Regions from separate parts of the Homo sapiens genome. Here all the other regions are linked to region 1. The links are contacts of gene promoters, found by promoter capture Hi-C in blood cells and fetal thymus (Javierre and others, 2016). All regions are on one chromosome and are shown on one strand. The core of a region is centred on a gene start or on the middle of the fragment in contact, and the rest is flanking DNA. Distances in the headings are between cores, read along the strand shown. Region 1 holds the start of FAM117B (family with sequence similarity 117 member B). Region 2 overlaps LOC101927840 (a long non-coding RNA gene). Region 3 has its middle 26 kb from the start of CTLA4. Region 4 has its middle 58 kb from the start of CTLA4. Region 5 overlaps CD28 (CD28 molecule).

Region 1 (2,727 bases), core at 161-2,660:
GGAGGCCGAGGTGGGCGGATCATGAGATCAAGAGATCAAGACCACCCTGGCCAACATGGTGAAACCGCCTCTTTACTAAAAACAGAAAAATTACGGGGCGTGGCGGCACGCGCCTGTAATCCCAGCTACTTGGGAGGCGGAGGCAGGAGAATTGCTTGAACGCGGGAGGCGGAGGTTGCACTGAGCCGAGATTCGAGCCAGTGCACTCCGCCACTGCACTCCAGCCTAGGTGACAGAGAGAGACTTCTTCTCAAAAAAAAAAAAAAAAGGCCTTCCACCACCGCGCAAAGGGACCCAGTAGGATTTCAGGTCCAGAGTGAATCATACTATGCCCTCCACTCCCACATTTTTACACGACGAAATCTGTCTAGCATGTACAACTAATAAAAATAGTAGAGGGAAAAGAGGTCATGGATAGGCAATTTATAGCCAGACAGGTGGGAGTGTAGGTTTTGGCTCCACCATTTTTTATTTTCTTGATGAGGAGCCCTTTAGGTCATTTTAGAAATAGTGTCACTGCCTGCCTTCCCGAGTCTTTGCCACACCAAAGACTTGTTTCCTCCGCTAGACAAAAATATGGATGGCTGTCCCAGTTCTGTCTCAAACAATGATCGTGTAGAATCAAATAAGGCCCTCTGTAAACTATAGCACTTTACAAACTGGTAAGGTAGCAGCCATCCTTCCAAGGTATCAGGGAACAGCGAAGCAGCTGATTAAAATAGTCTTGATTACTTGAGATACAGGAGGGTAGGAATAACATGTGGTAACTGAACTCTATAGATACTATCTAAAATCGCATTCTAACAGGCAAGTTTAATCTTTCTGAGATTTGCCTCTTTGTAGAGCTCTAAAAAATAAAAGGAGAGGGGCGTAAAATGCCAGTAAGATTAGTTAAATTTCTTCTCCTTTTGAGCCCTGCCCATAGGTAGATGGAATTAGGGCAGAACAAAAACATTAAGAATAAAAGCCCGAACGAGATGCGCGTACAGGTGAACACAAGTGAACACTGGGGTAAGGAAATGAGTTATGCGGAAAAGGCTTCAGACCATCCCTGGGAACTGCTCCGGGTCTGGACATTTCCTTTGGCAACCTTCCAGAGTCTGAGTCCCCAGGGCTCCCCCCGGCGGGAAAGGAAAGGCGCGCGTGGCTAGGCGCGCGCGTACACGGGCACTCACGTGTACACACACACGCGCGCACACTACACATACACACAGGGCCCATTTCCTCCGCTCCCTCCCCGCGGGGGGCGGGTCTCTTTCTCTTTAAAGAGCAGACGGTCTCCGCGCACACCCAGGCTCTCAAGGCCTCGGGGGCCCGGGACCCGAGCTGCTCGTAGCCAATGGGAGCAGTGGAGCGGCTCGAGCGCGGCTGACGCTGCACCAATGGGCGATCGTGGGGGGCGGGGGCAGCAGAGGAGACACTATTGTTGATGAGGAGCGGCGGCGGCGGCGGCGGCGGCTGCACCACCTCGTTGCTGCCTGCCCCGGCCCGGTCTCCCCCTGCACCCCGGAGTCCGGCTTCGTCACCCCGTCTTGGGGGGCCTGCCCTCCGGCCTCGAGAATCCTCCCCCTGCAGCCCAACAACAACAAAACCCCCCGTCTCGCCCAGTCACCGGGGAGGGGGGGGACCATGTCCCAGCGGGTGAGGCGCAATGGGTCCCCCACGCCGGCCGGCTCCCTTGGGGGTGGTGCGGTGGCCACGGCCGGGGGACCCGGGAGCCGCTTGCAGCCCATGAGGGCGACGGTTCCGTTCCAGCTGAAGCAGCAGCAGCAGCAGCAACATGGCAGCCCCACGCGGAGCGGCGGCGGCGGCGGCGGCAACAACAACGGTGGCTGCTGTGGTGGCGCCTCAGGCCCCGCAGGCGGCGGCGGCGGCGGTGGCCCGCGCACCGCCTCGCGCAGCACCAGCCCCACGCGCGGCGGCGGGAACGCGGCCGCGCGCACCAGCCCCACGGTGGCCACGCAGACGGGCGCGTCCGCGACGTCCACGCGAGGCACCAGCCCCACGCGCAGCGCCGCGCCTGGAGCTCGCGGGAGCCCCCCACGGCCGCCGCCGCCGCCGCCGCTGCTGGGCACCGTGTCGTCGCCCAGCTCGTCGCCCACCCACCTGTGGACCGGCGAGGTGAGCGCGGCCCCACCCCCAGCCCGCGTCCGGCATCGGAGGAGGTCTCCGGAGCAGAGCCGAAGCTCGCCGGAGAAGAGGAGCCCCAGCGCCCCGGTTTGCAAAGCAGGTAAGTGCTGGGGGTCGCGCAGCAAGGGGGAGGCGGCTGCGGGAAGGGGTCCCGGGCGCGCGCTGCAATCGCGCGGGGACTGCAGAGCTGCCGCGGAGCCCGGGTGGCTGGGGGCGGGGCTGGGGGCGGTGCCGGGCGGTGGGGGACCCGGCAGTGCGGCCCCGCCTTTCCCGGGCCTACCCTACGCCCCGCCCGCCCGCCCGCCTCATTCACCCCTCTGCCCGCCCCGCACGGCTCCCTGGTGGTGGAGGTGCAGCGGCTAAACCTTGGGCTTGAGCTGATGAGTGTTAATGATAAACCTGGCTTCCTGGCCTTACTCCTGGAGGAGTCGTTACTGCTTACCCTCCCTTGAGGGTGAGGCTAGGAGTGGTTTGTCACTTTGTTTTAGGGACAAGGTTAATGTTGGCATAGCCCATATCTGCTGCTGCTAAGTATTTCTGTTCACAAAACAGTTTCAGATCTGGGGTACTGAATGCATTAGCAGTGGCAGATTTGGA
Region 2 (2,727 bases), core at 97-2,596, 1.3 Mb after region 1:
GTATGGAAGCAAAGGCCTGAAGAATGGTGGAATATCTGCCAAAGAAGGTAGGCTAGAGTGGTGAGGAGGGGAAGCACAGACAAAATGATGGCTCCTGGCAGTAGAAGGAAGAGTTAGTTTGGGGAATTTGGAGAACTTCATGTCATTCAACGTGATGGAAACATTTGGTACAGAAGGAAGAAAGAACAAATGTGGCAAGAGATGAGGCCGAACTGGGGAAGGAGTTGCCCTTCATAAGGAATCTTGAAGGGGTGTGGGCCTTACCTAAGAGAGGAAGCCAGTGGAGGATCCTGGGTGGGGCGGGGACACAGATGAATTCTATTTACATTTTACAAAGATTACTCTGGTTGTAGCATGAAGACAGACCAAAATGGGACAAGGGTGGGAATAGAAATGACAGAGGCCTGATCTAAGTCAGTGACCTTGGCAAGCGAGGAGGAAAAAATACTTGAGAGACAGTTAGGAAGTAGAGTAATTGGGGTTTATCGGTGAATCAGCAGGAAAAGGGAGAAGGCTGGTTGGTGGTACCACTCAACAGTATAGGCAAGGTAGGAGTTGAAGCAATTGTGATTAGGAAGGACCTCTCACTTTTGATGCTTGTCCCTTTCAGAATGGCAAACCAAGCTTAGGTGAAGCCTAGATATTTGGGGGTTACTTTCTAACCCTATTGCTTGGACTCAACCATGCTGGTGTCTGAGCTCCTCTACTCAGACAAATGTTGCTTTCAGTAAGTTGCAAGCAAAGCAAAAGAAAGACATTCACCTACGGCCCTTCAGAAAAGCAAGCATGCTGCATGATGAACTCTGGTGCCCAGGAGGCAAGAAATAAAAAACACTTTTAATGTAACCAACTTTCCATGCCCCACCCTCACCCCAGGCGTCTGCATACACAAATCAAAACCATCTTAAGTCATGGAATGAAAAAAAATTAAAAGCAAACTAAAAGCACTTCCTGTGAGGTGAATGGAAATTTTTGCCCAGTTAATTTTCCAGGCACGTGAAAGCAGTTCTGAATATTTTAAACCACAAGTACTTGTATTCTTGACCAAGATTTTTGAGAAGGCGAGGCATGGGAAGGATCATTGAAACAGGACTTTGACATAAAACATTGTTTACATAGAAGTGAGCTCTTCTCCACTATCGGATCAATTTACCACCCAGTGTCTGACAAACTGAGAAGCGAGAGGGTTGGGAAAAAGCAAAGAGATACATATCAAACAAAACCACACATATCCAGTTGAACTAAAGCTGAATTTAACCATAACTTGTGCAACTTTTCTCCCCTTGAGGTAGAAACATTACACCTCCAATTGACCAGGACATCTTTTTTTGCATTCAAATTATCTTGGAATTTCCTCTAGGACCTAAGTATCCTTCCACCATGAAAATAGGAGACCAAAAAAAGTAATGCTTCCAGTAATTTCTAGCCAAATAAATGAGGATAAGTGTGTGAGTGTGGTGGGGTAGTTAAGAGTTTGGAATCCAGAGTTTCACTGTCTGGATTTGAACAGGCTCCGTTGCTCATCAGCTCTGTGACTCCGGGCAAATGACTGAATCTCTCTAACTCTCAGTTTTCTCATCTATGAAATGAGAATAAGTAACAGACTCTCCCTCGCTGAGTTGTTTGAGAACGGGATCAGACAATGCACGTGGAGCCCCGTGTCTGGCACACACTATGTCCTCATTGCATATTTATTATTAGGTTTCTGCTTTGTATTTTTCTCTGTGCAACAGCCCTGAGCTCTAGAACTTATGACAGCTTTTCTCAAGTGAAGTTAAAGTTCCCCATACTCAGTTCCAGAGCTAGGCCTCACCTAGGTTGGAAGAAGTCAATTGTTCTCCACTGCCTGCCTGTGTGCTGGGAAAGGACTCTAGCACAGTGCCGGTGGGGCTGGAAGCCTTTCCTCATGATGCTACGGGGAGTACAGTGAAAAGGGAGGAGATTGGGGTAGCAAGGTCCCAGGGGTCCTGGCAGCCCAGGCTCTACTTCTCAGGCTAGCTCAGTCCCTCAAACAGCTTCCTTCACACCCACTGCTGAGACCCAGGAGCCCTACAGAAGGTAGCTAGGGGAAGCTTCAGCAGCTAGGGGGATCCCTGCAGGATCAGCCTCCTCCTTACCTTGCAGACCCCTTGGCTGTGGTCTGGCATTCCTAGTGGCTGGCCTAAAGCCCCAAACCTGGAATCTGTTTCAGAGCCTGGACCTTTTGGACTCACACCTTGGTTTCCCTGGCCAGCTGATTTCAGCTTCTCATCTAAATGTCATTTCTGCAGGCTAAGGGAAGTCCAGCCTGGATCTAGCATCTTGGAAGCGCGTTCAGACTTCTGGATGGAGGGATCAGCAGGCCTTGGTATTGGTGGTTCTACCTGCTTCGGTTAAGAGTGAGGACTCTGGAGCCAGACTCTCTAAATCATAGCACTGACACTTACTATATGACTTGGGCCAGGTTCGTTACCTGTCTGTGCCTCAGTTTTCCTCATCTGTAAAATGGGAGATTAGTGGTCACCATTGGGATGATTAAGAAGATTAAATGAGTTAATGTATGTATAAACTATAGTTATAATGTAAATATATATACAAACAGTAACCATTTACATGCATATAAAACATAATATAAATGTAATATTAGCTATATTCATATATAAAAATAGGTATATTTTATATATAAAATATATTACATTTAATTTTTTACATTTTGCATTAAGATATATTATTTCATATAAAACATTT
Region 3 (2,727 bases), core at 117-2,616, 1.3 Mb after region 1:
TTGACCTCAGGTGATCCACCCTCCTCGGCCTCCCAAAGTGCTGGGATTCAGGCATGAGTGACCGCGCCTGGCCCATCTCATTTTTTAAAGGACAGAAAGATGAAATGCTTTGCCTCAAATTGTCTAGTCCATGGTGAGAGTGGAGCTAAACCCATTTTGGGGGTCCCTGTCCCTTGTGCTCTCTAGGATGTTCTGTATACTGCAAACATATTTAGCAATTTGGTTATTTTAAGAATAAGAACAAACTGAAAAAGATCATCTTTATCGATGCTAATACATTAACATATTTTTTTTGTTTGTTTTTGCAACAGGGTCTTGCTCTGTTGCCCAGTCTGGAGTACAGTGGCATGATCTAGGCTCATTGTAACCTCTACCTTCTGGGTTCAATTGATTCTCATGCCTCAGCCTCCTCAGTAGCTGGAATTACAGGAGTGCACCACCACACCTGGCTAATTTTTGTATTTTTAGTAGAGATGGGGTTTTGCCATATTGGCCAGGCTGGTCTTGAACTCCTGGCCTCAAGTGATCTGCCTGCCTTGGCCTCCCAAAGTGCTGGGATTACAGGCATGAGCCACCGTGACTGGCCCACTGACAAATTTTAACAGGTTTCAAAGACAAAAACCCTTTGTCTATGTAACTATTCCCTGGCAGTTTATTTCCTAGATGTCATCTAAGGACTTGGATTGCACAAAGTGAATCACCATTGTGTTCTCAGACTCAGAAGCTCAGGCCAGCTGCATGGCCAGATGGCCCAGTGGCCCCACAGACCCTATCCTTCTGGCTTGAGAGAAAGAGAAGCAAAGCAGAGAGAGAGAGAGAGAAAAATTATAGCCAGTGGCTGCTGCAAATCCAGCTGTTGATCCTATTCCAGACATGAGCACAATGATCATCTGGCTGCCAAAAGAATAACACATATTCTAGCCAGGGAGAACTGCCAAGGATCTGATGAGGGTTTGCTTCCATACATGTGTATTGTCTCATGAGCATCCAGAAGATGGATGAAGCTCAGTTTACTTTTTTTCTTCAGTATTATTTGAAGAATACATTTTGTGATTTTGTTACGCCTTTTGCTACTCCAAGTGTGATTTGTGGACGAGCGGCATCAGTGTCACTCACAGCAGGTTAGAACTGCAGAATCTTGGGACCCACTTCAAACCCAGTGACTCAGCTTCTGCATTTTAACAAGATCCCTGGGCGATTCGCATGCACCTTACGGTGGAGAAGCAGAGTGGAAAGCACACCATGACAGGTCATAGGACTGGGCCAATAGGAATTGGTTGGAAAACTCAGTGGTGGCCAGCATTGAGTGATGGCAAGAAGACCAGACTGAGATAGGAGACCTGGGTTCTAGACCCAATTCTACCACTTCCGTCTGTCTGACCCTGGGAAATCACTCCCTGTCTTGAAGCACTGATTTCCTCATCTTTAAAATGGGAAAAATATCTGACTTGCTTATTGCAGGGCTGTGGTAAGGATCAAATGAGATACTTCATCAGCAAAATGATCTGTGAGATATAATGCACTTTTCAAATGCAAGGGGCTGACAATTGTCATTGTTCAGATCTACCTAAAATGGAATTTGGGCTTTTTGACTTGTGAAATGAGTCACTGAACCATTCTAAGTTAACTATGAAGAATATGTACGTGACATGCAAGAGCAGGAAACACCTCTGAGCCACTTTCCTCAGAGATGAGCACAGGATTCTAATTTTACAAATGGATACAGGGAGGCCCTATTTATGAAGTTAGCAGTGGTTCCCCACCTGAGTTGTTCATTACAACTACCTGGGGAATCTTCTCAAAAATACCCTTGCTTAGGGGTGGGTACAGGGGCTCACACCTGTAATTCCAGCACTTTGAGAGTCTGAAGCAGAGGCTTGCTTGAGCCCAGGAGTTCAAGACTAGCCTGGGCAAGAAAGTGAGACCCATCTCTACAAAAAAGTTAGAAATTAGCTGGGTGTAGTGGTGCGCACCTGTAGTCCCAGCTACTCGGGAGTCTGAGGCAGGAGGATTGCTTGAGCCTGGGAGTTCCAGGGTGCAATGAGCTATAATTGCATCATTGCACTCTTGTCTGGGTGACAGAGTGAGACCCTGTCTGAAAACACACACACACACACACACACACACACACACACACACATCCCCACAACAACAACACAAAAAACTGCTGCTTGGGTCCCAACATAGACCAGTTATAGACCAATTGAATTAGAACCACCAGTGCTGGGACATAAACGTTATTTTTTAAAAACTCCCCAGTTGATTCTAATGTGCAGCTAGAGTTGACCATTGCAGATAAAGCGCTACATCAGAACGAGTTTCTAGGTACAATTGAACCCTTCTTCTCGTTGCCAACTGTGGGATAAAATTAGGAAAGGGAAACACTTCTGCTTTCCCCCTTCATGTTTCAAGAATCCCTCTTAAGGTAATTCATTAGAATTTAGAATTTGAACTTGGTGAGTGTTTCTTCTTTGCCCTGTTCGTCTGGCTGATGAACTTGGTGAATTTTAAAGCAAATAATAAGCCGGTTGTGGTGACATGTGCCTGTAGTCCCAGCTACTTGGGAGGCTGAGGCAGGTGGATTGCTTGAGCCCAGGAGTTTGAGGCTACAGTGAGCTATAATTGTGCCACTGCACTACAGCCTGGGTGACAGAATAAGATTCTGTCTCTAAAAAAAAAAAAAATAATAAAAGAAGATAATAATGAGCACTAGGAACTCTGAGCACA
Region 4 (2,727 bases), core at 62-2,561, 1.2 Mb after region 1:
CTAACCTCATTCCCACTTCCGGAGCAGGTGCTCTTTCATCTTTCACACAGTTATTGGAGATGGCATTTCTGATTTAAGACTGTGCATTAGTAAATTAAGGCCATGACCAGTAACATGCACAAAAATAGCGCAACAAGTATAAGCCTTTAAAATAATGTTAAATAATGAAATTCTATTCCTTCATGCTTGTTATCACTGAAATCCATTTTTTGTAGCTTTTAAAAAAATTACAAATCATTAAAAGCAAGGGCTTTTGAAATGCTTCACCCTACAACTATGCTTATAAGAAACACATAGGATATGTTACTAACTGAGCAAGCCGGAAATTAAAAGAAAAATTGTTTAACTTGATAACTTTTTTTAAAAAATCATAAATAATGTTGAATTTTTTCAAGTGGCTTTTGGGCATCTTTCTTGATTATTGTTCAACTTCTTTCCTTTGATCTGTTAACATAGTGAATGTTAATAGATATCTAAATATTAAGCTATCTTTTGACTTCTGGGATCAATACTATTTGTTAATGATAGGGTATTCTTTCAATATTCTATTTGATTTCATTTATTTCCCTTCTGATACTTTTGAGGATAATCTTCTTTTGTATATAGCAAGTTGGGTAGGGACGGTGTTAGTTTCATAATCATTTGATAGATTAGAAAACTGAAACACAGAGATAGTAAATGACTTATTATCTAAGAACAAATGGCAAACAAGTATTTGATTTCTGGCCCAGGGATTTTTGGTCTGTTCTCCACCAGGAAATTAGTGTTTCATCAAGCAAATATGCCATCCACCAAGTATTTCAGATAACCTCACAATATTTCACATAACCTAAGAGTAGTGTCTTCTAGTTTAGCTACATCATTAATGCCATTTAAAATCCTAATTCCTAATGCTCTCCTTTTTTTATTCTCCACAGTGACAGTTGTCATAACTATATCTAACGATTGTGGGACTTGGAGAAAAATGCAGAGTGGAAGCAGGAGGAGGTGAGAATAAGGAGGCCAGAAGGATGGCTGAGTCATTAGCTGAGCTCTCCAACCTCCTCCTGTACTATTCTCCCCTTTACTCACTAACTCTAGCCACACTGGCCTTCCTTTTGTTCTCCGAACTTTCCAAGTCCATTCACGGCTTAGGGCCTTTGCCTTTGCTGTGCCTTCTGTTTAAAATGGTCTGCCCTAGACTTATGCATGGCTGGCTCTTTCCTTTAGTCAGGCCTCAGCTTACATACTACCTCCTCAGAGAGGCCTTCCCTGACCTTCCATCTAATTAGCAGATACCCACTATATAGGTTGCATATCCATAATTCGAAAGTCCCAAATCCAAAAAGTTCCAAAATCTGGAACTTTTTGAGTGCTGACATGATGCTCAAAGGAAATGCTCATTGGAGCATTTTGGATGTCTGATTTTTGGATTAGGGATGCTCTGCATGGGTAAGTATAATGCGAATATCCCCAAATCTGAAAAAAAATATTGAATTCTGAAGTAATTCTGGTCTCAGGCATTTTGGATACAGGATACCTATCCTGTATTAGCTTGCTAGGGCTGCCTAACAAAGTACCACAGACTGAGTGACTTAAACAACAGAAATTGATTATTTCACAGTTCTGGAGGCTGGAAGTCTGAGATCAAGGTGTCAGCAGGTTTGGTTCCTTCCAATGGCTATGAGGGAGACTCTGTCCCAGCGTCTCTCCCTACAGCTTGTTACATCATCTTTTCTTTATGAGTGTCTCTGGGTCCAAATAAGAAGTTTACTGGGAGGTGATCCTGGCAGAGGAGGGGAGGGGTGAGGCAGAGGATAGAAAGAAGCCAACAAAGGGTGTGCACTGTGGACAACTGGAGCTTAATCCTGCTGAGGCCCTCTGGGAGCCAGTGTGGAATACACCCCAGAGTCATCTCCCCCAACGGGCACCCGTGTTCACCAGTGTACCCAATTCCCATCAGCCATGGTTGGTCTGCTCTGGGGTGCTCATGGGTGGAGAGCTGCTCATGACTCTGGTGGCTAGAGAAAGGCCACAGACAAAGAGTTGGTGGGCTGCTGGAAATCCAGTCCACCAGTGCCCACTGAAAGATAAGGCCTGAAGGAGTAAAGACAGGGCAGTGACTGTGTCAGCTACTGATTGACACAGTGGCTGATGGGCTACAGTAGATTGATGGGTGTGTGGCTGGGGCAGAGAGGCAGTGAAGCTATGAGGAAAAATTTTCCCTACTTTCTCCCCTAGGAAGTAGAGGAAAAGTTCTTTTTTTTTTTGTGACACAGAGTCTCCCTCTGTTGCCCAGGCTGTAGTGCAGTGGCGCGATCTCTGCTCACCGAAACCTCCGCATCCTGGATTCAAGCAATTCTCCTGCCTCAGCCTCCTGAGTAGCTGGGATTACAGGCATGCACCACCATGCCCGGCTAATTTTTTTGTGTGTTTTTAGTAGAGACAGGGTTTCACCATATTGGCCAGGCTGGTCTGGAACTTCTGACCTAGTGATCTGGCCGCCTCGGCCTCCCAAAGTGCTGGGATTACAGGCATGAGCCACTGAACCCGGCCAAGGAAAAGTTCTTGATGAACATCCTCTTGAAGACTATTTTGAATAGGTAATACTCCACATTGTATACAATTCGAGTATAAAAGTACACAGTGAAAAGTGTAAGTCTCCTTTTCTCACCACCCACGTCTGTCTTCTGCTGCACTTTCTTGTATATCCTTTCAGAGACAGTACAATGGTGTTGAGTGTGCGTG
Region 5 (2,727 bases), core at 140-2,639, 1.1 Mb after region 1:
GCCTGTGTAGGAACACAAATAAAGGTTAAAGGTGGGGCTTAGATTAGTGCTGACCAAAAGCAACTTCTTTACTAAATTATTTATTTATTTGAGATGGGGTCTCACTTTGTTGCTCAGGCTGGAGTGCAGTGGTACAATCACCACTCACTGCAGCCTTGACCTCCTGGGCTCAAGTGATCCTCCCACCTCAGCCTCCCAAGGAGCTGGGACTACAGGCACATGCCACCACAGCCAGGTACCCCCACACCCAGCTAATTTTTGTATTTTTTGTAGAAATGGGGTCTCGCCATGTTGCCCAGGCTGGTTTCCATCTCCTGGGTTCAAGCGATCCACCTGTGTCATCCTCCCAAAGTGCTAGGAGTACAGGTGTAATCCACTGTGCCAGGCCTTTAGTAAATTTATTAATCAGGATTCTATTTCTATTTATATTGTTACCTATAATCATTTGTCCTTGTTCAAACTAAAACCTCTTTAGATTTTGTTTTAAAACCATACTTTCTGTCAAGAACAGTTAATGTGCTTGGTATAACTGATAGTTGTGATATACACAATCTTGGCCAAAGCTGGTTGCTTGGTCTGCTTCTCTTGATGGAAGTCATTGCTTCTGTCATGGTGGCCTCCACTACACAACTCTCTTGCCTTCTGGTTCTGGTAACTTCGCTGTCCCCTGGTCTCTTTCGACCTAAGGGTGGTCATAATTCTGCTGCTGCAAGTCACAGGCTCTGGCACTACCCCTCGTGGTTCTGCTCTTGCCACACCTTTGCCAACAGTCCTTTCATAAATAACCTTCCTACTCTTGCCCAATTTTGTGTGTGCCATCTGTTTTCATTTGGGATCTGGAATGAGACAACATATAGTTGGCCCACTGTATCCACGGGTTATGCATCTTTGGATTCAATGAACCATGGATCAAAAACAGTATTTGTGGGATGCAGAATCTATGGATACAGAGGACCAACAATTGCATGACTTGAGCTTCCATGGATTTTGGTATCTGCAGGGGTCCTGGAACCAACACCCCATGGATCCAGAGGACCACTGTATATGCATGTTTATCAAGCTTATTCAAAGCCCCCTTTTTCTGTGTGAAGAGATTTTCCTTAAATCTTCATTTCTTGTGAAAATGGGAAGACTTTCAAGATAACAGTCAACAGAAAACTAGATGAAATGACCACAGAATTATTTTTAAACCATAACTTGCATTATTATCATTATTATTACCATTTTTTCATTTTAACATGAATTTCTGGGAGAGAGAGGCTGGGTCCATTCAAAGCATGGTAGGTCATGAATAGCTTTGTTTTTATCTTCATTGCAGCTCAGAGAGGATGGTGAAAGGTGCTACAGTCTGGTGAATGTTTTGTACTTCTCTTTCTCTTATCAGAAGGAAGCCAGGCCACCAGCTAAGGTTATCAGAGCCATAGACTGTTGAGTCCCCCTTTCTTCTCAGGGAGCACGGTTTGTCTCACAGTTTCCTGAGCAACCACCGGGTTGTCTTGTGGGGGAGCCTACCCCTTACAGAGCCTGAAAAGGAGCCAGTGGTCAGATGGTCACGTGTTGAAGGGCATCCTGGGCCTGAACAGGAAATATACTCAGAGGAAAGTTACAGTAACTTAACTAGCTCTGTGGTCAGGAGGGAGGTGCTCTTCTATGCCAGGGAAATCAGCATCACCTTCACAGTGTGCTCACAAATATCACAGGGCAAAATGGCTGAAAGTAGAAGCTTTCATTGTTTTTGGTTCCTACCTAACATGTGAAATTCTGTTCAGTCCGAATTTTTAAAAGGAAACAAGATAATTAGAATCTTACAACCTGATTTTTCAACTGCAAAAGAAAGTCAGACTATGATGTGCATAAATGGAACCTGATAAAGTTCTTAAAGATTCTGGAGGAAAATCACATTTTGCTAATTAATCATGTATTCCAGCTCTCTAACTGCTTCTTTAGCTTCCCAGTACGTTTTATTTCTCTATGGTGCTACGATAAAGAAAAGGAAAAACTATGACAAACAAATGTAATTCACAAAAGCCCTGAAGTTAAGGATTTTCCTAGTGAAGTTCAGACTGAAATGTGATTTCATGTGTTGACTCATGTCTATGTTCAATCCCTTTTGTATACTTGGGTAAGCTAGAATGGAAGATCTCAATGGTATAATTATTACTTGTGCATCAGAAATAATTTATAAGATTATTTGATGTGATCATACTGTCTGTAAGCCTTATCTGGGATCCATCTATGACCTTCAGGAAATCTTCAAAATTGTAAGCAAAATGTTTTGTATATGTGCATTAGAGGCAAAAAATTTGGAAATGTATTTTTTTCTAGATATGAGCATGAAATAAATTCAGTCTTGCTGAATGAACAAAGTTGTTTTTCTGTCCATTTATGATTTAAAACATTACTCCTAGATGTCTAAATAAATAAATTACATCTTAGCTCTTCCATTATTTGTGTGACCTTGTTTGAAAAGTCATTTACTTCTTCTCTTTTTTTCCCCCCAATAGCCTCTTCTTTAAAATAAGGAATTGGCATAGATCATCTCCAAGTTCCCTTCCAGTTGAGTGTGGTTTTTTGCAGGATAAGACTCTAATAAAATAGTGGGGAAAATGAAATGTATTTTGTTCTGGTCCTCTTCCCATTCCATTCACTCCCCTACTTAATGGTAATCTCCTCCCTAACCCTCACTCCAGACATCTGGTACCATCCTCCCTATCAAGTCCAACTTTG

Evidence for each region. The method cuts DNA at HindIII sites, captures the fragments that hold promoters and counts their contacts. A CHiCAGO score of 5 or more calls a contact.
Region 2: a contact is called between a fragment that was not itself captured here and the fragment with the promoter of FAM117B in region 1, in 1 of 17 cell types (fetal thymus). The highest score is 6.5, in fetal thymus.
Region 3: a contact is called between a fragment that was not itself captured here and the fragment with the promoter of FAM117B in region 1, in 1 of 17 cell types (monocytes). The highest score is 6.6, in monocytes.
Region 4: a contact is called between a fragment that was not itself captured here and the fragment with the promoter of FAM117B in region 1, in 1 of 17 cell types (fetal thymus). The highest score is 6.0, in fetal thymus.
Region 5: a fragment that was not itself captured here is called in contact with the fragment with the promoter of FAM117B in region 1 in 1 of 17 cell types (fetal thymus); the score reaches 7.5 in fetal thymus.

What each region holds. Positions count from the first base shown.
Region 1 is chr2:202,633,559-202,636,285 of GRCh38, forward strand. It overlaps FAM117B (family with sequence similarity 117 member B), which reads left to right and starts at 1,411. Exons shown (of 8, transcript NM_173511.4): 1 at 1,411-2,230. The coding sequence starts at 1,630. RefSeq lists silencers at 1,449-1,678, 1,869-1,918, 2,019-2,458. The HindIII fragment of the contact is 4,588 bases long and covers 1-2,727 here.
Region 2 is chr2:203,933,317-203,936,043 of GRCh38, forward strand. The region is part of intron 3 of LOC101927840 (a long non-coding RNA gene); the gene reads right to left. Among named protein-coding and RNA genes, the nearest start is that of ICOS, 2.1 kb to the right of the region's middle. The HindIII fragment of the contact is 1,448 bases long and covers 623-2,070 here.
Region 3 is chr2:203,892,816-203,895,542 of GRCh38, forward strand. No RefSeq gene overlaps it. Among named protein-coding and RNA genes, the nearest start is that of CTLA4, 26 kb to the left of the region's middle. The HindIII fragment of the contact is 5,290 bases long and covers 1-2,727 here.
Region 4 is chr2:203,808,409-203,811,135 of GRCh38, forward strand. No RefSeq gene overlaps it. Among named protein-coding and RNA genes, the nearest start is that of CTLA4, 58 kb to the right of the region's middle. The HindIII fragment of the contact is 5,785 bases long and covers 1-2,727 here.
Region 5 is chr2:203,716,759-203,719,485 of GRCh38, forward strand. The region is part of intron 1 of CD28 (CD28 molecule); the gene reads left to right. Among named protein-coding and RNA genes, the nearest start is that of CD28, 11 kb to the left of the region's middle. The HindIII fragment of the contact is 663 bases long and covers 1,059-1,721 here.